Linked DNA regions of Homo sapiens: all the other regions are linked to region 1. Evidence: promoter capture Hi-C in 16 types of primary human blood cells and fetal thymus (Javierre and others, 2016). All regions are on one chromosome and are shown on one strand. Each heading gives the region's core, a stretch centred on a gene start or on the middle of the fragment in contact. The rest is flanking DNA. Distances are from core to core; before and after follow the strand shown.

Region 1 (7,430 bases), core at 90-2,589:
TTATATATAATTAAGAATTTAAATATATTTAACCTTTAGATCCATTCCTGTTCACTGTGACTTTTAATTTTTTTAAAAAATACATCAGAATTGTCAAATGTTATAGTAAAATTAACAAAAGACAATGTGCTAAAAGTATGGATGAATATATGTGGAAACAAAGAGACATATATTCAACCAATTAGAGTAGAATCAATAAGCATTTTACAAATACCAATAATGTTCTGCAATTCTGATATAACTTTCATAAAGATAATGTTTTATAATCTCTCTGTTCTTGCTATGAATCTCAAGGATTTTTTTTTTAAAAAACGTGACTCTCATTCAACTTTTCTGGCTTTCAATGTCTGTTGCCATAAAATTGAGTCATCTACATACCACTTTGAAATTGTTCTTTTGTTACCACTTCGGACAGGTGCAATGATAAACGATGCTCTTGAAATAATAATAACCCAAATGTTCACTTTTTTTGCCAGAAAAAGTGTATATATTCCTTCACAGACTATACAAAATGTGTATCACATTTAAACAGCTCTAACATAAAGAAAAAATAGGAAGGGCACATACAGCTCACTTTCAGGTTTGTATTATATTTCCAAACCTTTTAGATGTTAGTATCATGAAAGCAAGCAAAATACAGCTTGTGGGAATACTCTTATATTGGAATATTTAATGATAACACCATAAGTTGGATAATCTGTCTCTTCTGAACAGCAGTAGGACATGTTTAGGTACTGTTAAATAAATATTTCAGAAAGTGTCTTTGAACATGCATGTTCCTATATTGAAGAAGCATGTTAGAGATACAAGATTATTCAAAAACTATTTCCTCTATCTTTCATATCATGTATGCATTATCTCTACTTGAAATCATATTTGTTGTGTCCCTTTCCGAACTAAAATATCGAGGTACCTCAAAGGGTGGTTTTCCTAAAGGACAAGTCTAAGCTAAGTTTTCAGAGGGCAGGACTCTGTCCAAGGTACTGAAGTTGGCGTTATCCGGGACTCCCTGTCTGCTGGCGCCACGGCGCTCAAATTGGCTCCTTTAGGTCCCCTTCTAAATTTTAGGAGAGGCTTCCCAGACCCTGGAAAGGTGTTTCTCTGAGTTCCTTGAACCTAGAGTCCTCCGTGCACCCCGCTACGAGCCCCGCGCTGAGTCTCGGCCCCGCACTTGATTGCGCAGCCTCACCCTCCGCAGGGCGGAGCTGCCAGGGACCCACTCTGTCCTTTGGGCCCCACTCACCTCCTGACTCGGCGGCTCTACTCCCAGATGGCACAAGGGCTTCCCTCCGCACTCACCCGCCTGGCCCCTTCCGGGTTCCCTCGAACGCGTGGAGAGAGTTCCCTCGAGTACGCGGAGAGGAAACGCTCAGGCTGCTCCCGAGCGAGTGGCTGTCCCCAGCTTCCGCGTCCTGGAGGCTACCGTGCCTCTACTTAAGCAGTGGGAGTGCTCGGCGCCTCTCCAAGTCTACGTCAAAGCTCCTGGAAACTGCCGCCACCTCTCGCCTCCAAGTCCGTCTCCCGCACCCTCCTCTTCTCTCCCTCCCCGGAGAATTTCGGTTCAGGAAACCAGCGGGCTTGGCCACACACACTCTCATTGGCCTTGACCCGCACCCACTCTGCACCTGCCGGAATTGAGCCTCTAATGCGGCTGGGCTTCCCGCTCCCACCTCGCGGGTGCGTGCCGATGCGGCGGGAACTGCAAAGTTAGGGCCCAGCTCCGCGCTGGTCCAGGGGACAGCAGGGGTTCCCGCTCACCACACGGGCCTCGTCCGAGAATAAAGGGGTGTGAGGGAAGACTGTGGACTCTTGGGGTCGGAGGAGGGACATGAGCTGCCTCTCGACACTCAGCAAGGGCTCAGAGGAAATAAGGCGCCTCCTCGAGATATTCCAGGTGTGAATTTCTCCTGCCTGTAGCCCTGGGCCGAAAGGAGAAAAACACCCCCGAGGGCAGAGATGAGGATAGGGACTTCGCCCTGCTGGAAGCTCCCCCTGACTGTTGCCAGGACACCCCGTTGTTTCCAGACCCTGGCCTGGGTCACTCAGGAGACTGGGTTGCTGCTGGCATCGCTTTGGTCAGCACCTCAACCCCCCAACAACCCCGCTCCAGATTTCACAGCAGGGTCCCAGCTTTCCAAGAAAAAAAAAGCGCCTGGGATTCCCTTTGATTCTCACCTCACAGCTACTTACTATCCCAGTCCCAGATTAGAGCCCTGTCACTGCTCCAGTGCTCCTCTGAGCATAAGTGCCCATCTTAACTGAAACACACCCAGCCAAGGGGCCTGAGGCAAAGGTCTTCCCTCTGCAAGTGTTTCCACGTTTTGCCCCTTTCCTGAAAATTCCTTCAGCCCCTGAAAACCACTTGTAGTCTCCACTAACTGAAGGCTTTTGTGCCAGCTCAATAGTATCCATGGTTACCTTCCGAGGGGCACAAGGCTTTGTAGTAAGATTTGCCGAAGCCACAGAGAACCAGCCCCTTCCCCAAGGTACCATTAAATAGGAGGTCTGAAGAGGAGTTCTGGGGGGCTCTGAGCTATTCCTCCTGCTCAGAAATGATGGAGTGTACTTCAGTTTCTCCATGTGTGAGCTGTATCTAATGTCTGCTTCTATTCACCCCATAGGGCTGTGGAAAAAGATCAAGGGTGAAGTCTTGGACTTGCTTCCTGAACTTTGAGGAGCTCATGCCTTTGGAGAAAACATACTTCAGGACATCATCCAGGAGAAGTTCCCCAACCTAACAAGATAGGGCAACATTTAAATTCAGGAAATCCAGACAACTCCAGTAAGATACTCCATGACAAGATCAACCCCAAGACACATAATCGTCAGATCGAGAAAGCATTTGGAGGTGACTCGTGAATGTCTGGAAAAACGAGTTGTACAGGTATCCTAAAGCCAAAGGGTCAGGAGTGCAGTTTCAGGGGTAGAAGACAGTACAAGCAAAGGCAGGAAGGGAGTGCTCATCGCAGTTCATGCTTCTAGGGAGCGAAGTCAAAGAAAGGACTGTAGAGAGGGAAGGCCGAACAGAACAGAGGTAAAGATGTGTCCCCTGGTTTGGGACGTGTCAATAGTTACATTACTGTTGAAAACATTCATATATAAACATGCAGTGCTTACTTTATTTTCAAGTGCCTATGTGTTAGGCACTATTTTACATGCTGTGTATACAGAAGGAACAAAACAAAGTCCTTGTACGCATGTAGCTTACATGCTAGTTGAGTCTGGAGTGATGGAAAAAAATTATTTATATTTTAATTTTAAAATTATATCTATACACATATATAGTGTATATGTATACGTGTGCACACACATAATATATGATTTATGCTTCTAGTTTCTATGTTGAATGGTGAGTTTACAGCTATCTATCAAAAACAAACACACAACTAGCTAATTAAATACACAAGTAGTGCCATGCATGAGTCAATAAAGTTTATCCGTCATTCTGAAGCCCAAGAAAAAATATATGAGTAAAGTGTCAGATGTGATAAGAAAAACAAAGGGTCAGCCAGGTGCAGTGGTTCATGCCTGTAATCCCAGCAGTTTGGGAGGCCGAGACAGGTGGATCACCTGAGGTTGGGAGTTCAAGACCAGCCTGGCCAACATGGTAAAACCCCATCTGTACTAAAAAAAATACAAATACATACACAGAATTAGCTTGGTGTGGTGGCACGCATTTGTACTCCCAGAAACTCAGGAAGCTAAGGCACGAGAATCGCTTGAATCCAGCAGGCGGAGGTTGCACTGAGCTGAGATCACGCCACTGCACTACAGCCTGGATTACAAAGCGAGTCTCTGTGAAAAAAACAAAGGGTCATCAACAAAAAGTAAAGCAGGGAAAAGGATGATGGAGAAGAGCTATTTTATATAGAATACTAAGAGAAGCCCTTCCTGATAAGAAGATATTTGAGCAAAGACCCAAAAAAGTGAGAGGGTGAGTCATGCATAGTAAAAGAATGCTTCAGGCTGGGGGTGGGAAAACAAGTCTGATGGCTTTGGAACAAGTGTGGTGTGAGAAGGGTGTTTTTGAGGCATAGTGGCAGGACATGAGGTCAGAGAAGTGACCAAAAATCCATGTTGGTTGCTCAGTAGAGAACAGACCAGAGAGGAGCAAGGGACGAGGAGGGAGCTCAGTTAGGAGCTGTTGCAATCAAGGTGGGATAAGATGGCGGAATAGATAAGGGTGGCAGCAGTGGAGAGGGTGAAAGTGGTCAGATTCTGAATATATTTTGATGGTAGAAGGGATAAGACTCATCGATGGACTGGATATAAGGTCCAACAGAGAGAGAGAAGTTGAAGATGACACCAACTTTTGGGGAATAAGTAAATGGAAATTTGAATTTCCATCAGCTGAAAGGAGAAATGATTTGAGGAATAGGTTTAGGAAAGGAAAATAAGAATCTAGTTTTAAACATGTTGAGTGTGAGATGACTGACATCCAAATGGAAATTCCAAGTAGGTAGGGAAGAAGGGGGAACTTACGATAAATATTTGGGATACAGTGCTCAGGAAAGAGGTCCAGATTTGGGATTTCATCAACATGTAGGCAATATTTTGAGCCATCAGAGAAAAGTGTGGAAAGTGGCTACAACAGTAGGGATACAACTTGGGATAGAACCTGGAAAATGCCAGTATTGGAGTCACTAAGAAACAAAGAGATAGGAGGAATCAGGAGAGTGTGCTGCCTTGGAAGCCAGTTAGGTAGAGCTTTTCACATAAAGAAGAAATCAACCATATCACACAAACTCAGCAAAGGGGGTCAATAAAATGAAGATGAAAAAATTCCATTGGATCTAAAAAATAGCAGGTCACCAAGAAACTTGTTAAGGGCAATTTCAACTAAATGTTAAGGGAGGAGAAGTTGCGGTAGGCTGAAGCAGACATGGAAGGTGAGAAAATGAAGACAGTGCCTGTGGAGTATTCTCCATGAAGTTCAAATAAGAGGGAGAAAGACTGGAGTGGAAAGTTAGGAGTTGGGCCTTGGCCATGTTTACAGGCTGAGGGAGAGAAACTCATAGAGAGAGAGGGGTTGCAGATTAGGAGAGAAGGATGACTAGTAACCTCAGAAGAAACAATAAGCAACAGGGGTAAGAGGATAAGGAGGAGCCAGACTACAACAGAAGGGCAGAACACTTGCCCTTGAAAACAGAGGGAGAAAGGGAGGTTCTCTGTTGATGTGGATATGTCTACAGGTAGTGTGGTGGGTAGGGGGCGCAGAAGTTAAGAGACACGCGACCAATGGTCTTATTTTCTCAATGAAGTAAGATGCACAGTGATCCACAAAAAAAGTGAATGAGGGTAGGTGTTAAGTAGGAAGCTTAAAAAGAGCAGAAAAGCTGTGATTAATCTTTGAAGGAAAGAAGAGAGAGGAGAGAGGAGATAGACTAAAGAACAGTACTCAAATCCCAGGTAAAGTTTGCATCAATTTGTCATAAACATTTTGCATGCTTGTATGGCTTTTATGAGGTAAAATAACATAATAGTGAAGACTATCATGCTATGGATCCCTCACTTGTTATATGTCATTGAGTCTTAGAGGCAATGCACATTTAACACTGCTGAAATCAGGATATATCTGTCAACTGATGGCACCTTGTAATTAGAATTGCAGCATTTTCTTTTAGTTTTCTTTTTTTTTTAATAATGAGATGTCTACAATTTGATATAATCAAGTGCTTTTGATTTGATATAATGCTTTGGGCAAGTTAGTTAATCTTTGTGAAACAGATTTCTTGCCTGTAAAATGGGCAGAAATGTTCCTCATGGTTAGTAAGGATAAAATGAGATCATATACAGAAAACACTTAGAATGGTGCTAAATGTAGCAAGACTTGACAAATATTAGTTATTTTTTTCCTTCTACAATGCTCATCTGACTGAATGTAAGAGAAAAGAATAGTCATTACGCCACCGATTAAAGGAATCAAGGGTGTAAGCAGGCTAGAAAAAGGAGTAGAGAAATGAAAGACTGGGAGGAAAGGGGGGAACTGGAAGTCTCATTGAAGGCAGAGAAAACAGGTATAAGTGGAGTAAGGAGAGGGGACACTGAAAGGCAGGAGAGGGAGATTCATTATTCAGATTTCAGAGGTGGAGATTTTCCCATTTTTGTGCTCTGAATCCTAAGCACAACCACTGAAATAAGTGGCTAAGATGAAGTGATAAAGGCCACTGTAATTGAGCTCCACCTTTCTTATAAGTCTGAAAATAATGAATTGAAATGGTCATCCTATTTCATAGAAGCTGAAGGTGTGTGACATCACCATCCTAATCAGAAGGCCTAGAGCAGCTCTTGACAATGGGAATAAAAATTATTTTAAAAGATAATTTTTATGTCTAGCTGGTATCTGCTCATATGCTTTTTTTTCTTTAATATAACAGTCATGTGTTGCATAAGGATGATGTTTCAGTCAACAACGAACTGCATATAAGACAGTGGTCCCATAAAATTATAATCTATATTTTTTACTTTACCTTTTCTGTGTTTAGATGCACAAATACTTACCATTGTGTTACAATTGCCTACAGTATTCAGTGCAGTAACATGCTGTACAAGTCTGTAGCCTAAGAGCAATAGGCGATACTCTATAGCGTAAGTGTGTAGTAGGCTATACAATCGAGATTGGTATAAGTACACTCTATGATGTTCCCACAACAACGAAATCGCCTTATGATGCTTTTCTCAGAAAGTATCCCCTACGTTAAGTAATGCATGACAGTAATTACTTGGGACAGGAAGTTTTGACCTTCAGTATACTTTTGTACTGCCACCCTGGAATATAATGTCCTGATTAAACATTTCTCATAAATATAAGTTATCAACTTGTACTTGTAAATTAAGTAATCATCTTATTGAATTTTTAAATTTAGAGTAAGAACCTAACCACTACATACTCTGTTGTAACATATATTTCTATTTCTTGGTTATTGGGGCAACTTGGCAAGATTCTTGGGAAGGGGAATATATGTGGGTTTTTTTGTTTGTTTGTTCTTGGTGTTTTTTTTTTTTTTTTTTTTTTTTTTTGTAGACAGAGTTTTGCTCTTGTTGCCCAGGCTGGAGTGCAATGGCACAATCTCGGCTCACTGCAACCTACGCCTCCCAGGTTCAAGCTATTCTCTGCCTCAGCCTCCCAAGTAGCTGGGATTACAGGTGCCTGCCACCACACCTGGCTAATTTTTTTTTTTTTTTTTTTTGGATTTTTAGTAGAGATGGGGATTCACCATCTTCACCAGGCTGGTCTTTAACTCCTGATCTCGTGATCCGCCCGCCTCGGCCTCCCAAAGTGCTGGGATTACAGGCCTGAGCCACCACATCTGGCCAAATATATGTTTTTTAATCCTGATCCCCACTCTCAGCTTGATAATTGCAAGAGGAAAATGACATTCCAATTCCTGCATTTAGATAAAAAGAAAGCCACCACCAAGCCATTAGAT
Region 2 (6,431 bases), core at 546-3,045, 760 kb before region 1:
TTATAGAGTATGACAAAGGTAACCCAGAATATGCAGTTACAGGTAGGGTGTAGACATCTTGAGTCTTTTTCCATTTATTAAAATAATTTTCTGTAATATATTCTTTTATTTTTTTCAGTGTCCCCACATCTCCCATTGAGACTTCTTGGAAAGGTCGGTAAACAAACTTTGCTGGCTCCTTTAGGTCTATCACAGACTGAAAGATAATTGTGGAAATGTTCTCCTGCCATTGCTTAACCCTGTATAATGCCACAGGCACCTGGCACAGCTTAGCTCCCTTTGTCTAACAAATGGGTAATATGTTTAAACAAGCCTGGTGGATTCCTGCCAGGATGCAGACAGACTAAGAAGCAAAATAAATCTAAAAGATGCCTCTTTCACTTCCTCCCTGCCCTTACCAATGCTGGGTCCATATAGTCAAATGCAGAGGGTTAGCAAACACCAAGCAAGTTGGCTTACTGATAAACCACAAAACAAACACGTATCATTTGCGTTTCTTCTTGAAAATAATCAGGTGTTGAGAGCCAGCTTTGAGTTGCCGGAAAGAGCTTCAGTGATTGTTTGTCACCCAAACAACTGCTTTCTTCTCCAGTTTTCCATTTTGGGCTTTCGGTTTTGTCTTGCTCCTTTAAGTAAAACAGCTGACTTGACTTGTCTGTGACTTCTGGGAATAATTTAATTCTTACACAGGGGCTAAGTAACTGGAGAGCAGCATGGGAGAATCCGCTCTGATGCACCCCGCACTCACTCACACACAGACAGACATTCAGGCTCATCTTCCCTGCTTTCTGTGGCTTGGAGAGAGAGATTTGGGGAATCTGTGTGCGTTATTTGCCTTTTTAATATTCCGACCTATCTTAGAGGTCACAGTTACAAATCTCAACAAAGGGTGTGGAAAAGTAAAGTTTTGTATGATCAAGAGCCATGTGGATTTTTAAAGTTGAGAAACAGTGTGTTAGAGAGAAGTGGGGTCTTTCAGTGTTCTAGCGAGCCTGTGCTTGGTTGAGGAGGAAAAACTGTCTTGGTTGAGGAGGAAAAACTGTGTCTTGGTTGAGGAGGAAGTCAGAAGGGGAAAGAAACTAACATTAATCGAACACTCAGTTAATGTCAGTACACGTTAAGTGAATTAGCATATTTAATTCTCACAATAAAGCTGCTATCTCTTTTACAGATGAGGAAGAGGAACATTAGAGACAATTAATAATTTGCTCAAGTTCACCTACATGATAAGAGACAGGACTTCAACCTAGATTTCTCTGATGTCTAATAACACTCCAGTTACATCATTTTAAATAATTGGGGAAAAAAGCTTAGCATCCTATACTTTTGCTGTGAATCGTGGAGTTGCTCCTCCAAACCTTATCACAGCAGTGTCTTTTTCTCTTGCTGTCTGGCCTGCTTTCAAAAGCCTCATCCCTGCTTGGTAGCTTCCGGGAATGTTCTTTGCATACTGCAGGTCTTGCTTCCTTTTGGAGAGGTGTGTGTGGCACCACCACCCGTGCCTTTATACAGAATTAGGAAGGAGCTCTGTATTTGTTTTCGTTTTTTTTTTTTTTTTTTTTTTTAATTACAATTGAAAGGGTAAGGATGTGGGATGATTTTTCAAGCTCACCATACTTTTCCATCCATTCAGAATTAGCTTGTATATTTATTTACATCAAGTCATTAACCAACATGCGTTTATGGAGGCCTCTTCATGGGCAAACCATAAATACTTGGGAGATACAGTCTTATGAGCTGATTTGTGTCGCCTGCAACTATATATGTTGAAGTCCTAACCCCTGTACCTCAGAATGTGACTGTACTGGAGTTAGGGCCTTTAAAGAAGTAATTAAGGTAAAATGAAGTCATATGAGTGGACCCTAATCCAGCGTGACTGGGGTCCTTATTAAAAGAGAATATCAGGATACAGATAGTTGTGCACAGAGAGAGGAAAGATCATGTGAGGACACAGAGAGAAGGTGGTCATCTACAAGGCAAGGAGAGAGGCCCCAGAAGAAACCAAACATGCTGACACTTCAGTCTTGGCCTTCTAGCCTCTAAAACTGTGAGAAAATAAATTCCTATTGTTTAAGCCACTCAGTCTGTGGTGTTCTATAATGGCAGCCTGAGCACATGAATACATTGATGAAGACTCTAGCTATAGTTAGGATTCATGAGTTTAACAATCTAGTTGGGGAGATAGATGAGATATATGTCTATCTCTATATCTCTTTACATATCTATACCTATATCTGCATATATGTCATTGACTATAAAATTAAGGCAGTAAGAAAGCTTTTCAGGATTTCAAACCCTTGCTAATTGAGAAAGTGGGTAAATACAACCAGAAGGTTTTTTTAGAAGCCTTGAAATTGAACACGTTCTTTTTAGACCTGATAAGACTAGCTTTTTAGCTTTCATGAGGACAGATAAGAGTTATTCTTTTAAAAACTCCTCTAGTGTACACCAGTAGGCTGAACAGGAAGGAGTTGGCGAGGCTTTTTCTGATGTTTATTGGAGCAGCTGTAGAAATAATTTTGTACCTTGGATTCTGTGATTTCTTTCCATTATGAATAAATTTGGAATTTATTTTAAGGCTTTCAAAACTGGGAGTGCTGTGGTCTCAGGACTATTTTTTTATTAAAACATTGTCTTCTTCACTGTTGGCTGCATTTCAGGTGCTGGCTGAATCCTGCACAGTGGGCAGGATTCACATTCAGCTTCAGAAATGCCGTTGAATGATAATAATTACAATAATTATATATACACACACACACACACACACACACACACACACACACACGATGGAATTGGGTTCCAATTCTATTTGGCTGAACTTGATACTTGACTTTACTGACTCAATTTTGGCATCTTTAAAATGAAGAAGGTTGATAAGTACCCTGTTATCTCTGAAGACTGGGCACAATCATGCTGGAAAAGGAATTTGAACCCTTGAATAAAGATGTGTTGAACACAAGTTGTTGTTTATTTATATCAATGTATTTTATAGGTTGACACTGTGGACCGGACGAAAATCTTCCATATACTTTTGGCTCAAGACTGACTTCCAAAGAACCAAATAAACATGGTAGACAAGAAGGCCAGTAAGATCTAGTGCTTCAGAAGTGGCATGAACACCTTGCTATCTCCATGAACTAGAATTGCCACCTTTTTCTCACAGAATCTTATTCATGAAAGACAAATTGCATTTTTTGCTCCTATTCCATAGCCAAATATCCTCTTTCCTGCTCCCTTCCCGCTCTCTTCTTCCCGCAAGCTTGTTAATTCTCCATTTCAATGGGAGCTTCCAAGAGAAATGGAAGGAATCATTCAGCAAGGAGAAAACATTGACCATCTAGAGTCTTCGATATTGATTTAGAATCCACTTTAATATGGTCTAAATTATGGCTAAACAATAAACAAGGAAAAGATGGTGGAGAGAACAAGAAGAGTGGCTAATCAAGTAAAGCCCATGGAAACAAACCAGAACCTAAGTGCACGCTGAGCTCAGGGCCTGAGGGACAGATAAAACACTTCAAACTAGTTTTTGGCCTCCAGGAGTTTAGAGTCTGTTGGGGAGAAAAGGCATGCTAACAGTTTATGAGACTCAATGAGATGATTTATGGCTGTCACCAGAGCATCACTTCCCTTTCATCTCCAGAATATGGAGCACTTTTTTTTTCTGATTCCCAAGGGGACCTGGAAACTCATATGTAGTCTCTCTTCATGTCTAGGAAAGCATGCTGGTAACAGAGAGACACCTCGTCTGGGTGAAGGGAACCACAGTTGTGCTCATCTCCTGTGGATGCTACCTCTAACAGCATGACCTATTGCAGTGGACTCTTCTCCTGTTCAATTCACAGCCATCTCCAGCACCAGAAATGAGTCCTCCAGTGCTTGGCCATGATGGGTTCAGATTCTTGATCTGAGTCCTGACCTCTTTTCTGTCCCTGCTCCTCCAAAAGGAAATCTCATAGATCTTTAGAGCACACAATTTATTACATCCCTGTTCCCAGAAAGGGATGATGATGATTACTATTTTGAGAACTATTTTAAGGTGACTTTCTCTCACATCTTTTGTTAAAAGGGGAAGAAAAAACAACTAAAGAAAGCAAACTAAAACACAGGGATGTCAATTATCAAGTAAGCAAAGAAATATGTGCTGAGCAGCAACAAAATGATAAACATTTTCATAATCCTGATTTTATTTAATTTCCACAATAAAGCCTACAAAGTAGCTATTCTTCTTCTCGTTTTATTGAACAGAAAGCTGAGGCTCACAGGAGTTAAATATCTTGCTCAAAGTTACACATTTAATACAGCCAATATTGCATCTATTTTCTGTTTCAGGACAGTGCTCCTTCTAACGCACCACAGCTGCTCCTGAATCAAAAGAGGACGCACTTCCATTGGGTTGGAATGTTCCGCATGCAGGTGTATGAGGAAGAGTTATTTGAACTGGTTCTTGACTGAATTATAGGGTTTGGCTAGGTGGTGGAAGAAGACAAGTTTATACCTGGACTGGAGGGATTAGCATGACTGAAGCCACAGGTTGGAAAATGCAAGGTGTATTTGGACGACTGTGTGTAGACTGTTTTGGCTGGAGAAGAGGGCTCATTCCTGTTACAAAATGGCACCCAGCCAAAGAGAGGAGAACAATGAAGATTGCTTCTGCCATTGTTGCGATTTGGGATTTTCAGGCACCTCTGTTAAATGAGGACAAACAGTGCTGACCTTCTCTTGCAGGCAGGCTGGGATTCTGAATCATCAGTGACTGGGAAGTGGTGTGCTCCATTATCTGAGGCATGATATTATATCCACCAGCTATTTCGTTCATGCAGTTGGATTTCTGCTCCATTGAAATGATTCTCTCAGTGTGAGCTCAATAACAAGGGGCATGATGGTAGTTTTTCTGTGTTGCCAGAAACTAGGTCTGAATTTCTTCCAGCGCCTCCTGCTCTAAAGCACCTCTTATGATTAATTAACCTTTTGTGGAGTAACTAGGACATCTGTGTGGGATGAGATGTACTTTGGTCAGACTTCAGTTTTTAGTTGTTCAGCAAGAGGATAATTAATTATAAGAGCTGAATCTGAACAGAAGATTGTTGGAGGAAGTCCAAATGAAGCAAAACATCTAATTATCAATGAACAGGAAGTTTTTTTTTAGTTGTCGTTATTGTGGGAGTGAATAAAATACTTAATGCAATATAAATAAGAGGTAGTAACAACTTAAGATGCCTGCTTTGAGTGTACACTTCATGTAAAAAATTTGGGATATTTGTTTTTTGGAGACAAAGTACAATGAACTAACCATAACTAGAAAAATTGGCAACAGAGGCCAAGTTAGTGTCTAAAATAAATATTGCCCTTTGAGATAATTGTGTTGCCTTTAACAAAGGTATATCTAGAACATCTGGCTATTGCCACTGACAAATAACAATAAACATCTCTTGTCTAGAAAAGAATGTTAGATTAAGATGGAAAGAAATAAAATACAGGAGGCTAAAAACAGTGCAAAATCAGTTTCTTTAACATAAATGGTTACTGTGATAGAGATGGTTTCCCAATGCTTAGCTTTCTGAAGTGAATCACCTCCAGTATTTAGCCCACATCTCCATAATACAAATTTTCTACAAAACCCCGGAGGCTGACACAGTCAGAGATTCTAGCTTGACTTGCTTGACTATGGTGACAGGGTAGGTTAGTGGATAGTGTGAGAAATTTCCACTGTCAAACAAAATGATCCCACATTCACTGATAACTTCTTCAGAAGTACTGCACTATCTATTTAATGAGAGAATATGATTGCAGCTCATGTTTATAGATATCAACACACTTCCATTGGCATGATGATGGTATGTCCTTTCTTGCTTATTTCTCCTGCCGCTAATGCAATAGCTTTCATTCCTTTCTTTCTCTCTACCTCATGGCTTCTGCTGTCAGTACTTACAGCCTATTCTTTGTGTTTATCTCAGTGTCTGTAGCTTTCTTTTGTCTGCTGCTGTTGGGAGACAATTCTCCTTGGGTCTCTTGCATTTCTGCACATCTCGTGATCAGGGGCATTGACAACTTTTGTTTTGGACTATCTTTTCCTGGGTGTTTACATGGCAAATGGACTCTCCAGAGTGAAAGATGGCTTTACTTTTTGTTTCGTATAATAAAGATAATATCTCCTTTGGGGCAAAGAAAGGGCAAGTTTGCTAGCAATTCATTATAAAAGATTTAGGTTTTCTAGGTTCAAGGTTCCTTGAGTGTGATGCAAATCTACTATTAGGCTACTCTGGCATTGCTATAAAGAAATGCCTGAGACTGGGTAATTTATAAAGAAAAGAGGCTTAATTGGCTCACAGTTCTGTAGGTACTATAGGAAGCATGGCACCGGCATCTGCTTGGCTTCTGGTGAGGCCTTAAGAAGCTTACAATCATGGCAGAAGGCAAAGGGGGAGCCC
Region 3 (6,965 bases), core at 2,696-5,195, 790 kb before region 1:
AATGAATGGCGTTGACAGTTTTGGGAAAGTACCTGATTTTAGGTAAACTCAGAAGAGTTCAATTTATAGAAGTAGAATCACAGTCTCTTAGAGATGAGTTTCCTGACAAGTTAATTCATTCATCCATTATTTATGTATTTGCTGACTACTATATGCCAGGCACTGCTTTGGGACCCTGGTATACAGAAATGAACAGAAGTGGCAAAAACCATTGTGTCCTTGAGCTTCCGTTTGGCGCTAGCATGCACTATGCTGGAACATCAGCTGTACATATTACAGAGGGAATAATAGCATTAGTTAATGAAATGAGTTGGTCCGTTTAAAAGACCTTTTATTGTACTTCCCCGTTTTTTTAAACCTGCTAAACTTGAGATCATTTGAAACCCTCTTTCTCCTTTATGCCTTACGTCTTATCTATTGTCATCTTCTCCCAGATTCTTTTCTGCAATATCTCTTCTCAAATTACAGCAAGAGTTAACTTTGTGGATCTCTACCTCAACTATTAATATTTTCCTTTTCCAGTGCATCTCATGAGTAGATTCTAAAATCACAATCCTTGGAAAGCATTTTCACCATTACGCTCCCAAAGACAGGGCTGGTTTCATGGTCATGTGACCTGTGCATTGCCACAGGGCCCTGTGCTCGGAAAAGAACCATGCTTGGTTTAATACTTGTCCCTGTCTTGAAATTTTTAACAATTTTTGAACAAGGGCCTCCACATTTTTGTTTTGCTTTGGGTCCTACAAACTATGTAGCTGGCCTGTCAAAAGAACATACAGTAGATCCTTATTTTTTGACTCTATTGAATCTAAACTCCTCTGCCTAGCCTCAAAAGTGAATGTCCACCTTCCTAACTAGATAACCTTTTATTTTAACTTTTCCTTGATGGAGGAAAGCCTTGTTCAGGGCTAGCTAGATCTGCTGCCCTTGCATAAAATCGACCCACTTCTGTCACTGTGTTGTGGCTTGAACAGCTCTCTCTTATGGAAATGGATCCTGTCTTCTCTGCTCCAACCTAACTCTCTAAAACCCAGAACTCATTTCTTTCTAACCTGACTTTGTTTCCTGCCAGCATTTATGTAATTATGAATTTAAGTTTCTAATAAAATAATAATAGTTACTCCTCACTTTGTGTTTACTGTGGGAGACATCTCCTTGGCGTGGAACTAAATGCTTTGTATTCATTATCTCATACAGATATATAGTTTTAGAGGTGGGGCCTCATTCTGTTGTCCAGGCTGTAGTGCAGTGGCACAGTCATAGCTCTCTGCAGCCTGTAAGCCCCAGGTTCAAGCGATCCTCCCTCATCAGCCTCTTGAATATTTGAGACTACAGGTGCATGCCACCAATTCCAGCTAATATTTTAATTTTTTGTAGAGGCAGGGTCTCTTTATGTTGCCTAGGCTGGTCTCGAACACCTAGCTCAAGCGATTCTCCTGTCTTGGCCTCCCAAAGTGCTGGGATTACAGGCATGCGCCACTGTGACTGGCCCCTTATCTCATCTTTATACGGAGTTCTGTATTTTCTCTTCAGTTTTGGGCATGCTTATTCAGTACAGCGTGACTCTCCGTGTAGACGTCAGTGTTCTGAGCCTGAGGGTCATGTCTTCCTCATTCATTTGTGCTCTCTCGGCACTGTACACATGGTGTTTGGTGTAGTGCCAGGGCTCTGTGCCTGTTGCCAATTGACAGACAAAATGTTAATAAAGGCTGAAAGTATAAAGTATTGCACTTCTTTCATCTACTGATTTTTGCAGCTAGCAGCATCACAGGAAGACTTCGCAGGCCTGAGGACTTTGAACACTGCTCTGCACCATAACTTGAAGTAATTGTTCTTGTGATCGAAACTAACAACTATATAATGCCTGCTAGGCATAATGCCAGGACATGATTTGATTTCTGGTTAAATCTGCAGCTAAGTTGATTTTGCAAAATGTACCCACATGTGCTCAGGCAGTACGAATGCCCTCCCGCCCTCCGTTCACTCTCAAAAGTGCACTTGTCCAGAGAGTTGGATGTCCCTCACTTGTTGGAATATTTGACCCTGTGCATTTAAGTCTGAAGCTTCCAAGGCTAATTAGAAAAAATTGTTGTTGATGAGCTTCTGCCAAATGTAAAATGCCATGTTCAGATGCCTTTAGGACATCCATTAAAACAGCCAGAAATGGGGCCATGGTATTTATCAAGTCAAGGGAGACTCATGCTTAATAACAGTGACTTGTTTTATGCCATTAAGAAATAAGCAGACCTGTCAGGAGAATGTTCAACATAAGGTAATGTCAAACTTGCTGGAATAACTTACTCACTGCAGGGCTCCCATCTGTGAAGTCGCTGGGGAGGTGGCTGCTTCCATGTGATTCCTCAGATTTGTCAGTTAAATTAGATGCCCAAAGGCAAAACCAACTGACAGGGGCATTATGGGACACTCCTGGAGGATTCAGAATCCATAATCCCATGAGTAGGTCCCATTCACAATCTTGTTCATGCTGATACTAGGGGTCATGCCAGATTTCTAAGGAAGTAAATGATAAGAAAGAAAGCCAGCAGGCCAGCCCCCTCAAGGCTGTCAGTAGCAATATGGTTAATGTATAGTTTGTGGCGAGAAGGAAATGGCTTTATTTTTAAATTAAATTAAATTTTTTTAGTAGGAAAGTTTCAGAATATTGTCTTGAAAGAAAAATTCACAGGTTTTTTGAAATTGAATGTTTTGGCCTACACCAAGTCAGGCTACTGTCAGGGGAATTGTATTAATGGGATGCTGACCAAAATGTTTTTAGTGTTTCTCCGTGACATACCAACCTGAGGGTAAAAATAGGGTACAATAGCAAAAACACAGCAAGTCTCTGTTTTGACCTCCTTCAGCAACTGTAAGAAAGGCAACCATTTTATTGATTCTAGTTTATTTTACTCCCTCTTTTTCCTTGCCCTCCTTTCACTCGCCCCTACCATTCCCTACTAGAGGGCCTTCAGAAGACCATGGGTATGGGGTAAGGATATTTTGAGTAAGAGAATGTAAAAGGTACACAAAGGCACTACTCAAACCCACTTCCTCTCCTCCCAACAACACTGATCTAAAGTCCTTGGACCAAGTTTGTAGATCTCAATTTTTTCCTTCTCTTAGGGTAAGTTACTTTCCGGGAAGTTATTTGAACTTTAATGAAAACAGACTCCTGGCAAATCTACTCCCTTAGCCCCCAGATCTGGCTCATAGAGTGAACACAGAATTAACTGAGAAAGCTCAGCTCCCTTCATGTCAGGGTAACTGTTGTCACAGTGACCTCAAGAATTAAGTGTCAGGTGGTGAGAGCCAAAGACTAACTAGATCATGATGACTGTTTTGCTTTAGGTGCCTCAGAAGCAGACTCTGGTACAATGAATCAAATGGAAGTAGTATATTTGGGAGGTGACTCCAAGACACACTGATAGTGGAGTATGGAAATGAGACAGGGAACAAAAACAAGCCGCTGAAATTTGCATTGGCGCGCCAGTCATCTCTTTAGGCAACTTGAGCTTGTTCTGCCCAGGAACTCTGGGAAAGAGTGTAAAACATATCTCAGAGTTATTCCAACTGGGAGGTGAGAAATCTGGGGTATTTATCAACCAAATCCCATCTGTCATTGATGGAAGGTTGCTTGCAGGGTCATAGACACCCTAGCACTTCCAGCTTGCCCTGTAGGAGGGCTGACCTGTCTCTTGTAGCCAGAAAACATAAGCAGAGAATGGTAGGTATTCACAGTTAGCACTTTTTGATGTATATAGAGAAGGGATATGGACAGGGTGCTGACCAAGCCTGCTATAGCAAGAATGGGAGATGGAGTAATTAATGATCAAGTTCAGCAGAAAAGCCATCTTTTGGTGGTTTTCCTATCAGTGCATTAACAAAGTTCACCTCAGTCAAAGGAAAATAGAGAGACAGGCAAGTAAAAACTTTAGAATGCTTAGGCTATTTAATTTCTGCAAGGTAACTAATAGTCCACTTGCTATTGGGTAGATGTGCAAGAAGTGATAGCAAGAAAAGAAAAATTTGACCAACAGATAGGCTCAAAGAAATCTGATTGTACAATACACTTTGAAATTATTCATTGTGAACTTAATCTCTTTGTACAAGCCCAGTAGTCTTTTAGCTAATTCCTTTCCCAATGAAGGAGCCAATCAATGTTTTTCAGGGGAGAAAATTACTAGAGAGCCTAGTATGTGTTTTGATGCCCTAATGAGGCACTATGAATTACCCAACCCAAACCAATTAAGTCTCAGCCTGGATAGAGGGCTACTGAGGAGATGAGGACACAGCATGCATTTAGGGCAGAATTAACTGCTTCCATAGCCTGGAAATATGCTTGGGGAGAAGCCAAACCTTATAGGCACTCTGCTCTCCTTAAAGCTGGCAGCTGAAACGTGATCCAGCCCAACGTTAGCTTTTGACGCTTTTGCTTCTTTGGCTTTAAATTTAAAAAATGTCTATAAAACATAAAATATGTTTTGAACATTACATAAGGCTATTAAGAGGGGGTGAATCATGAAAACATGGTATGTCAGAGACAATAAAGTAAGTGAAATGAACTGCTGTTGACTAGCTGCTTGACCTTGGGCCAGTCGCTTAGTCCTTTCTTGTCAATCAAATAGAAAATTATAGCCCAGTAATGTGGTTTTGGATTGCACCTCAATAAGCAAGCTCTAATATCTTGGTTATGCCTTACTGTACCATGGGAAACCAAGCACTTATTTTCATTTTAATGTGATCTCTTTCAGTGGACTGTGACTTTCTTAAGCACCCAGCACAATGCCCCGCTTGCCTTAGAAACTCAGGAGCTATGTGTTGAATAAGTGTGGAATGAATAGTGGAGGAAGTTATTTAGAATATTATGGAGCACCTAGAAATATGCAAATAAATACATAATCAATGCAAATAACTTTTTCATCAGAGAAGAAAATGATGAATATTGAATTTTTACACTACCAGTGTACATTAGTGGGGTAGAGGAAATGTGGCAGGAGAATTGTCACTGGTGAGAAGGTGTGTAGGGTAGTGACTAATACATGGGCTTTGGAGTTAAGCTGCCCGGGGCTGGAATCTTGGCTCTGCTTCTTACTAGCTAAGTATTCTTGTGCAAATTACCTAACTTCTCTGGGCTTCAGTTTCTTCTTCTGGACCTTGTAGGTCCAGACAAGGATCTTATAGCCATGCAACATCTAGAAAGTCTTGAGAAACAGTCTATTGCTTAGAAGAGCTCAGTATAAGCTGATCATGGAAAAACACAAAGTCCAGAGTGAGGTATAAGACTTCTTCACTGGGTTGCCTTTCAGCCCTACTGTGTCAGCCTTTGATGGGTTTCCAAGCAGACTTTTTGTTTCCTGATTTCTTTTTTTTTCTGCCTCTATGATTTCCCTACCCTGTCCTAGCTCCATTTTCCTGGCACTAGACTTGGCCAAGGTTGAAACTCTTGTACCTTTCTCCATCTTTAGAGGGTGGTGATGGTGGATCATTGGAATAGATGGTGGGTCCTCAGGTCCTCCATGGTATAGGCATGGGTATTCCAGATTCTTCAGAGTAGAGCATCCATAGGACAAACTTATTGAGTTTCCTGTAACATCACCTTGAGCAACTAACTGAAGTCATCTGCTGGGTGAAGATGGAAAGGAACAAGGGGCATGGAGAGAACAACCCATTTTCTGCCATACTATAATAAGGCAGTATAGGTCGTATGTCTTTCTAGTATCTGCCACATAGTAGATGCTCTAGACATACTGGCTATGTCCAGTCTTCATGGTATTAGATAGTGATCAAGGGACTTTCCTTACCTCCACTTCCTTCACCTCTTTAAGCTTGTGCTTTGAACATTCACACCATCCAGAGTTGCGAGCAGGTCTCCAAATCTGGTTAGGACAGCAAGGAGGATGGATAAAAATTCCATCATTTGGGTCAGCACCAACCCTGGGTAAAGGTCCTTGATCCATGGATGGGATCCACATCCATCAGCCTCCAAGTGGAGTTTGAGATCTTGTCGGCCTTTTTGACATGGAGGTCTGTTACATGATCACTGGCTGTGAGCATCTTCCTCTGGAGGAAGTTCTTCCTTTTCCCCACCATGACCAAGGAAATAATCAATAACCCTTGTCCCAGAAATCCTGGGATCCTCTCTGCTCTCAGGTCACTTTGAAAAAAGGCTATCTATAGAAAGACTTTTGAAAAATATATATTTTATCTTCTATTATGAAATAATTAACTGTCCAGTGTACTCTTTGTTTGTGTATTTCAAAAATTTAAGCAGTATGAGCATCCTAAAGCAAATCTAGTCCAATTCCTCTTCACTTTAAAGAGGAGAGACTGTAAACTGGTTTGCTGCAAATTTTCCCTATCTTTTTTTTTCTCCTTCTAGTATTTCTAGTTGCCAAGAGTTTTGTTTATGTTTGTGGGGAAATCTAAAAATTATATGCCTGTAGACTATCTTATACAGACTGATGTTTAAAAAAATTCCTTAAGATAAAACAAATTTCACAGTAGAAGTTATTTAGCCGCTTGGTGAGGTGGTGACATGGCATAGTGCTTCATATTGCTTATTTTTATTTATTTTTTTTTACACCCATGTAATAGCTAGAAGACACAATGACACGCAGAGCCATAAAGCCAAACAACTCTCCCATTTCATTTTACAGCACAAGGCGGAGAAGGGCACAATTTGGTATCCTGACCATTTTTATAGGGGTTTGGAGACAGGTTAGACACATCTGAAATATGTCCTTCAGTTCTTAGAACTCTTTCAGGCATTCCTGCTGAAGGATGTTCCTTGGAGAAATACTCCTATAAATACAGGATGTTTTCATTACTGCATGTGGTTGATTCAGCCTGTTGGCTACATGACATTGAGGAGAAGTGCCTGAGAAACGACTTCATATAGACCACGTGCAAACAGTCCCTAGAGCTCCCCGGATTAGAATTACTCTAGTGGGAGTGTTTGGAAATGAATG
Region 4 (7,043 bases), core at 2,323-4,822, 840 kb before region 1:
GGCTGGTCTTGAACTCCTGACCTCAAGTGATCTGCCTGCCTCAGCCTCCAAAAGTGCTGGGATTATAGGTGTGAACCACCCCACCTGGCCAAGTTGAAATAACTCTTGATTCTCAATCTGCTTTGGAGTCATCCCTCACTGATTTTCTGCTAAGACTTCTTTTACTTCCTCATTTACTGCTACGTGGTTTCTAACCTGACTTACCTCTTCTGTTCCACTGTTGAAAAAGCCACTGTGCCACGGAGCCTCCTGGAGCCTGCCACACAGTAGACACTCAGTTACTGGTGACTCCGTAATTTCCTTCTAGGTGGGGCTGAGGGTTTGGTTGGAAAGAAAGATTTGAAGATGTGTTTATATACATTTTACACAAGATGGAAGCAACATTAGTTGTCCCTCCCTACCAATCTCAACAAGTGTTAGCTCTCCTCCCCCACTTCCATTCTTCTCAGCGTCTGAAGTGAGCACTCAGCTTGGGGATTTGGCAAAGAAGGCAAAGACTAAAAATAAAAAGCAAAAGGAGAGTTAAGAATTTCAAGCATTCTCTAAGAGCCTCCATTAACCGTTGGTTCTGATATTCATTGAAACATAGGTCCAGCTCATTAAAAGTACCTTTGAATTATATTATAAGTTTTTTTTAAAACAATAATAACATATTTAAAAAGACTGCTTATCATTGGGCATTCCTTTTCAGCTCTTGTTACAATGATATATTTCAATAGCTATAGATTATAGGCACATATGCTTTTTATCTTCTTATTCTCTATGCTCCTACCTAGTTGTCATGCTTGTTTTTTAATGCCTGGCTATATTCTGTCAGTGGCTATTAACGGAGTAGAGAACATATGTTCTGGAGTTCTAACTCAGGAAGAGCATCAAGACCTCAGAGGGTTGATTCAATAATTAAAGGTCACAATAGATGTAGCATATTTACAATAGTATGTAGACAGCATAAAGGCTGACTAAATGTTGGCTGTTATCTATAACCATATCAACTCAATTAACTTCATCTTTCTTCTTTACAATGTAAGAGTAACTTTTGGTGGGGAGCGTGCAGGGTGAGGGCAAGAGTAGGGTCTCTGGGATGAGGCACTTGGAGAGGTGCCAGGGTCATTTAGTAATGCTACAGCAGATATTTTTTAAGCACTGCGTGTTTTTTTTTTTTTTTTTTTTTTTTTTTTGCCAGTTTAGCACCAGACACTGAGCAAGCCTCCTGGTCCTTGAAGTTACAAAAAATGAATGACATTTTCTGATCTCAAGTTGCTCAGTGTGTAGTCAGGAAGATGTGAAATGAGGAAACCGCACGTGGGAAGAATGTTCATCCCAGGAGGTCAGGCAGGAGCTAGACCCACACTGGGCTGATGCCCACACTGAACTGAGTAGGGTTCCTCCTAGGAATTGGTCAACTTTTTAGGCAATGACACAAGAAAAAATGCCTAGAAGCCAGATCATGAAGCAGGTTGTATGAAGTCATAAGGAGGGCCCCTCCCCCTGCCCTCAATAGGTGATTCGAGAAGTTACAAAGCACAGAGGGACAGAAGAAATGAGCGATGAAGGTTGACTCTTTATTCTTCTCTCACATTTGTTTCCATCTCTACTACCCCTGCAGATTGGGGCCTCCATAGCACAAGGGTTATAGTTGGGGAAGAGGAGGAAAGAGGAGAGACAGGAGAAAGAAATTCTAGGTAGTGACAGTGGAGAGGAAAGGGGAGTTTTAGGAACCCACTGGCTGGTGCAGTCATTTGTATTTAAGAGATGTATGTAATTTAAGCTTCTAAAAGCCAGAGACTGCCCTAGAAAATAAATTTCCCATGCTATGCAGCAATTCATCAGTACCAAACTTCATCTCCTAGTTATTTATGAGTTTGCATAACTTGAGTAAGTGCCAGGCAAGTTTTTCTGAGTTTGATTCTTCATTTAGTATGTTTATTTTTGAATATTTTCTAAAGTAACTTTTAACCAAGTTAAAAGTTAGATCCTCACACTGAAAGGTGAAGAGTATTAATGTTTGGGAGTAAATAAAACAGTCATTCCAATAACTCCCAACTGAAACAAACTTTTCTCTCAATTATGAGGCAATTAAGCAAAGTGAGGTGGTGTTTTGACGTGAGATATATGAATAACTGAGACTGTAAAGCTAGCAGATGGCATATCAACATATCAAGTTTGTGAGGTAGTTCTGTGAAGTGAAAAAATATGTACAGTTCCAAAAAATATTGAGGTTGACCTAAATACGTTTGCTTATGCTATATGAGTACAAGGCTAACTATGCAACGTTGTTTAAGTGATGACTAGGATACTATTTAAACATCTGAGAGAACAAGTTGATTCCTTTAGCAATTTTTTTTTGAGCAGTCATTTCAATAAGTGCCTTAGAAGTTATATGAAGACTTGATTTCAACTCTAAGAATAAACTACATAATGTTTCAAATCTAATATTATCTAGAAGATCCCAGATGTCATGATACAGTTTAGTTTTGGAACAAGAAATAGTAATTAAAATCAACTAGAAAGTCTAGTGGGAGATCATTCAAAAACTTCATATGCGAGAAACTTTTAAGAGGCAAATAATATGAACAGTGATTTCATCAAAAAGGTGTAAAAAATAAACAGATGGGGACCTTGAAGAAAAAAATGTTATAAAATATCTACTGTTTTTCTTCCAAATAATTTCCAAAAATAATCAAACCTGTAAGAGTTATATAATGTGTAATTAGTAATTATTGTATCTCCTTGAGTTTCTTTCCCCTTTAAAAATATCTCTGCCTGTGGCTGTATATACAGAATTAGAAGAATTTTACTGGCTTCTCAAAACCAGTAAGGGGCGAGGGAGGACAGACCAGATAAGCAGTCATCAGCAATTGCGGTTAGGTTCAGCTGCATGGAAGAGAAACCTGGCTTCCTAGGCTTATACGAGGAAGGTGGATATTTTCCTCATGTGACATGAACCCAGAGCAGGGCAGTCCAGGGCAGGTGCTGGTATCTATGAAGGTCACTTAGGACCTGGGCTCCTTCCTGCTTCTCCACAGTCATCCTGGCTGGAAACTCAGCCATGTGTTTATGCCAGGCAAGAAGAAGTAGAGAGGCAGAGACCTGCAGAGCTGGTGCCTTTTTCAAAAGCTTTCCTGGCAGCTCCACCCTGTGATTTTTTGCTTACATTTAATCAGCCAGCACTAATTCCATGGCCTCCTCTAACCATCAGGGAATAATCCAGGTCAGGGCAGGGTTTTTAAACCGAGTACCTTGCCACCCCAAATGGATTTGAGTTCTCTTGATAAGAAAAAAAGGGAGAATACTTTTATTTTTGATTTTGAAGGTATTTATGTTATCCTGTTTGCCATCAAAAGGAAGTCAGAATTAATCTAGTTCTGTTACGATCTTTCATTTCCTGCTGTATATTATAGTACGTGGTAGACATTCAACAAATGTGGTTGATTGATGAATGGATTCATTTAACCAGTAATTATCAATCATACTACATGTCAGTGTTCTATGATATTTAAAAAGAAATATATATTCCTATCCTTGAGGGATTTATAGTTGCAATTTCAGACATTCATATATATGAAATGATTAGAGAACAATCCAACTGATAAAAAGAGCACAATTCTTCATCTGTGTTTTGCTTTCTATTGTTCGTGCTATTATTGTACTGCTACACTGGATTTGGTTCCAGGACTATTTTCATCAAATTATTTGGTTAAATATGCCCAGTGGTGCAGAAAAACAATGGAGGCATTAGATACTTGGGTTTTCATAGCATCAGGGTTGTGGATGGTCATACAGCTTTTGTGCTTCTCATTTTCTCTCTATAAAACATGCCATAGCAATGGCCATCCAGCATAGGCATTGGATAGACAAGGGGAGATGAAGACAATTAGGAGCATGCCTGGGCTCTGAAGTCAGGCTTCCTGGATTCCTCTTCCAGGTCTGCCATTTACTAGTGTAACCAAGGGTGTGTGTCCTACTTTCCCCATCCAACAAGTGGGGCAATAACTGTACAAACTACAGGGGCTGATGTGAAGCTTGTGCTAACATATGAAAAGTATTTAGAAAGAGCTTGGCATGTAGTAAACACTCAATAAAAGTTAGCTACTATTATGTAGTGTTTTCCAATGGTTTATTTAGAAGCAAAATAGTATCAGTCTAGAAGTCCAGGCTTGTTTTTCTCCCAAACATGTTTTCACAAGTGCTTCCATGGTCTCCTTCTCCTTTTCTTCTTCCTCTTCCTCTAAAAACATATTTTGCTGTGTCTGCTTGGTCATCTTTCACTGGGCCAGAGAAAGAATCCCTGAGGGTTGGACAAGGGGAGCAGCTGAGTTGGTGAGAAAAGGAGCCCAGCAGGTTGAATGCCTCGAACCACTGTGATGAGCTCTTGAGCTGGGTGCCAATCAAAGTGAAGCAGTGGGGCTTGCCAGGTGAGATGTTAATTTCAGCGGTCACACGTGTCCCTGTCTGGACTCTCCCTAGGACTCTTGACCCTACCCTGCAGTGGTTTGAAATGGATTTTATTAGGCTTTCATTACATTCTCATATCATTTTTTTCACTTGGTATCTAAGCTACACGAGAGCCAGTATAGTGCTTTGTCCTTGGCTAATACTCTACCCAGACCTCTCCTGAGTGTCCAGCTCTCTCTCTCTGCTGCACCAAATCTAGAGTGAGGTCAGGGGCTTAGAAACTCAACTCAACTTGTTAATCAATGAAGCGGTGAGGCTATTTTGTCCCTTTCTTAAACTTCTTTCTAAAGCAGAATTATAAATAGGATACTCTGTGACCTATGGGTCAAAAAGGGAACAATCGGGCAAATGATTTTTGATTGTAATATCTATTATGACCATAATATATTAATAATGAATGTCAAGGATTTGGCTCGAAGACAATAAAAGCAAAGGTGCCACATATGTGCTCTCTTTCTCCCTTTCTACAGTACTGATTTCATAACTTATCTTTAGGTAGAGTGGAAATTAGATTTTAAAAAGTGAGTAAAAGTTTTCACCCGAAAAAGTAATTTGTTAATTTTTATCTTGAATAACTCCTTGACTGATGAAACTCCATTTTGTCTTATACTGTTTGCAAACAAAAAAGAAACAATAATCCACACTAATAAGCACATCTGAGAATGCCTTTAAAACCCCTTTATTTGCCTAATTGGAGAAATTTTCTGGAATGATTGTCAATGGAAAACAGTTACAGCATTTGTGTCTAAATATATCTTCTTGCTTTTGTTCTACTTCCACCTGAGTGTTTTTAAAATTCTTATGTAGAGTTGATCTTCCTTTGTTAAGGATACTAGTTTTCAGAGTAAGGTTTTTTTTTTAAGAAAATCATTTAAAACATTTATACTACCCTAAGCTTCCACAGTTCTTGTTGAGAGTATTTTTCTCTTTGAATTTCAAGGGAGTGATGTCTTGTTGGCATGTTTGATGTTGTGGATGTGGGTTTCACTTTATTCGAGCAAAGCATTTAGAAAGCTCCAAGAATTTCTCTCATCTTCCTGGGTTGAGGGAAATGTAAACAGTGACAAACAGTTCTTCAAACTCTCCCTGATTTTTTTTCTTGTGGTGTTACTTTCCACAGAGTTCAAACACATGGGCTTTTAAGAAGAGATAATAATCTCATTTGACAGTAAGCAATAGTTATTATGACGCAGATTAGTCAGTATTTTGTGAAATATCAAATAATCAAGTAGTTTGGATCTGCTAGACCCCTCCCATTTCAATCATTATGCATGAAGTTGATGACCTTCATCCTTGTGACCCCACAAAGATCTTTATGACACTTATGTGTGAACTTAGAGCATTTTTCTACTCAACCGCAGCGCTGCTAACTCTGTTTGGGACGGAGGAGCTGCCTGTGCATTATAGGCTATTTAACAGCATCCATGGCCTCTCCCTATTAGATGCTAGTAGGACCCCTTCCTCTAGTGTGACAATAAACGGTGTATTCTGACATGGCCAAATGTCCCCGGGGAGCAATATTGCCTCCCATTGCCGTGGGGACCTCAGCCATCAACCTATGATGGGTAAAGGAAAAGATATTTTTCTTCTCCTACAGTTAAAAACATAAAAATTAGAAAATCCCCGGGAAATATTTTTATATCACCAGCAAATATCCTGACTAGTCAAAATGAGGCTTGCCATCAAAAGGAAGTCAGGATTCATCTATTTCTATTATGACCTTTCATTTCCTGCTGCATATTATAGTACATAGTAGACATTCAACAAATGCCTTTGCCTCCCATTGAGAACCACTGTCTTACAGCAATCTTCAGTCCAGGAGTATAGTGACAGTTTTTCACTACAATGAACAAAATTACTAGAGGATGTTAGGAGTTAGAAACCCCAGATTGCTGATGGGGCAACATAGGCACAGAAGTTTACACATGCCCAGTCTGTCGTAAGAGAGGGAGGCCGAGTCCCACTTCCCATAGTGCTTGGATCAGTCTGCCTGATAGTGCTTGCTTGATAATTACCGGTTAAATGAATCCATCCATCAGTCAACCACATTTGTTGAATGTCTACTATGTACTATAATATGCAGCAGGAAATGAAAGGTCATAATAGAAATAGATGAATCCTGACTTCCTTTTGATGGCAAGCCTCACTTTGACTAGTCAGGATATTTGCTGGTGATATAAAAATATTTCCCAGGGATTTTCTAATTTTTATGTTTTTAACTGTAGAAGAAAAATATCTTTTCCTTTACCCATCGTAGGTTGATGGCTGAGGTCCCCACAGCAAAAGACAGATTAACAAAAGGATACAAATGTGTTTAATATAAATTTTATGTGACATGAGGGCCCTCATAAAGAAATGAAGACCCCCAAGAAATGGGTAAATGTGAGTATTTTCATGCTAGGTTTGATGAACAGTGAAGAGTCATGGAGAAATACGATAGGGTGAAAAGGGTGTGATCTAATGGTAAGGCACTGGGGGAAATTTAGCAAGACCTGATTGTTCAGATTCTTTTCTGTGACCCTAGGTCTTCAGAGATAAGGATGTTTTTTCCCTCCAGGCATAGGGAGGACGCCTCGCACATGAAGCTG

The links. The method cuts DNA at HindIII sites, captures the fragments that hold promoters and counts their contacts. A CHiCAGO score of 5 or more calls a contact.
Region 2: a fragment that was not itself captured here is called in contact with the fragment with the promoter of FAM237A in region 1 in 1 of 17 cell types (naive CD8 T cells); the score reaches 5.2 in naive CD8 T cells.
Region 3: a fragment that was not itself captured here is called in contact with the fragment with the promoter of FAM237A in region 1 in 2 of 17 cell types (naive CD8 T cells and fetal thymus); the score reaches 6.8 in naive CD8 T cells.
Region 4: a fragment that was not itself captured here is called in contact with the fragment with the promoter of FAM237A in region 1 in 1 of 17 cell types (fetal thymus); the score reaches 6.1 in fetal thymus.

Annotation. Positions count from the first base shown.
Region 1 is chr2:206,636,396-206,643,825 of GRCh38, reverse strand. It overlaps FAM237A (family with sequence similarity 237 member A), which reads right to left and starts at 1,339. Exons shown (of 3, transcript NM_001102659.3): 1 at 1,244-1,339. RefSeq lists enhancers at 988-1,567, 1,568-2,149. The HindIII fragment of the contact is 6,542 bases long and covers 1-5,319 here.
Region 2 is chr2:207,402,530-207,408,960 of GRCh38, reverse strand. No RefSeq gene overlaps it. Among named protein-coding and RNA genes, the nearest start is that of CREB1, 120 kb to the left of the region's middle. The HindIII fragment of the contact is 968 bases long and covers 1,312-2,279 here.
Region 3 is chr2:207,432,575-207,439,539 of GRCh38, reverse strand. No RefSeq gene overlaps it. Among named protein-coding and RNA genes, the nearest start is that of CREB1, 94 kb to the left of the region's middle. The HindIII fragment of the contact is 3,759 bases long and covers 2,066-5,824 here.
Region 4 is chr2:207,478,048-207,485,090 of GRCh38, reverse strand. No RefSeq gene overlaps it. Among named protein-coding and RNA genes, the nearest start is that of CREB1, 48 kb to the left of the region's middle. RefSeq lists a silencer at 43-92 and an enhancer at 323-392. The HindIII fragment of the contact is 905 bases long and covers 3,120-4,024 here.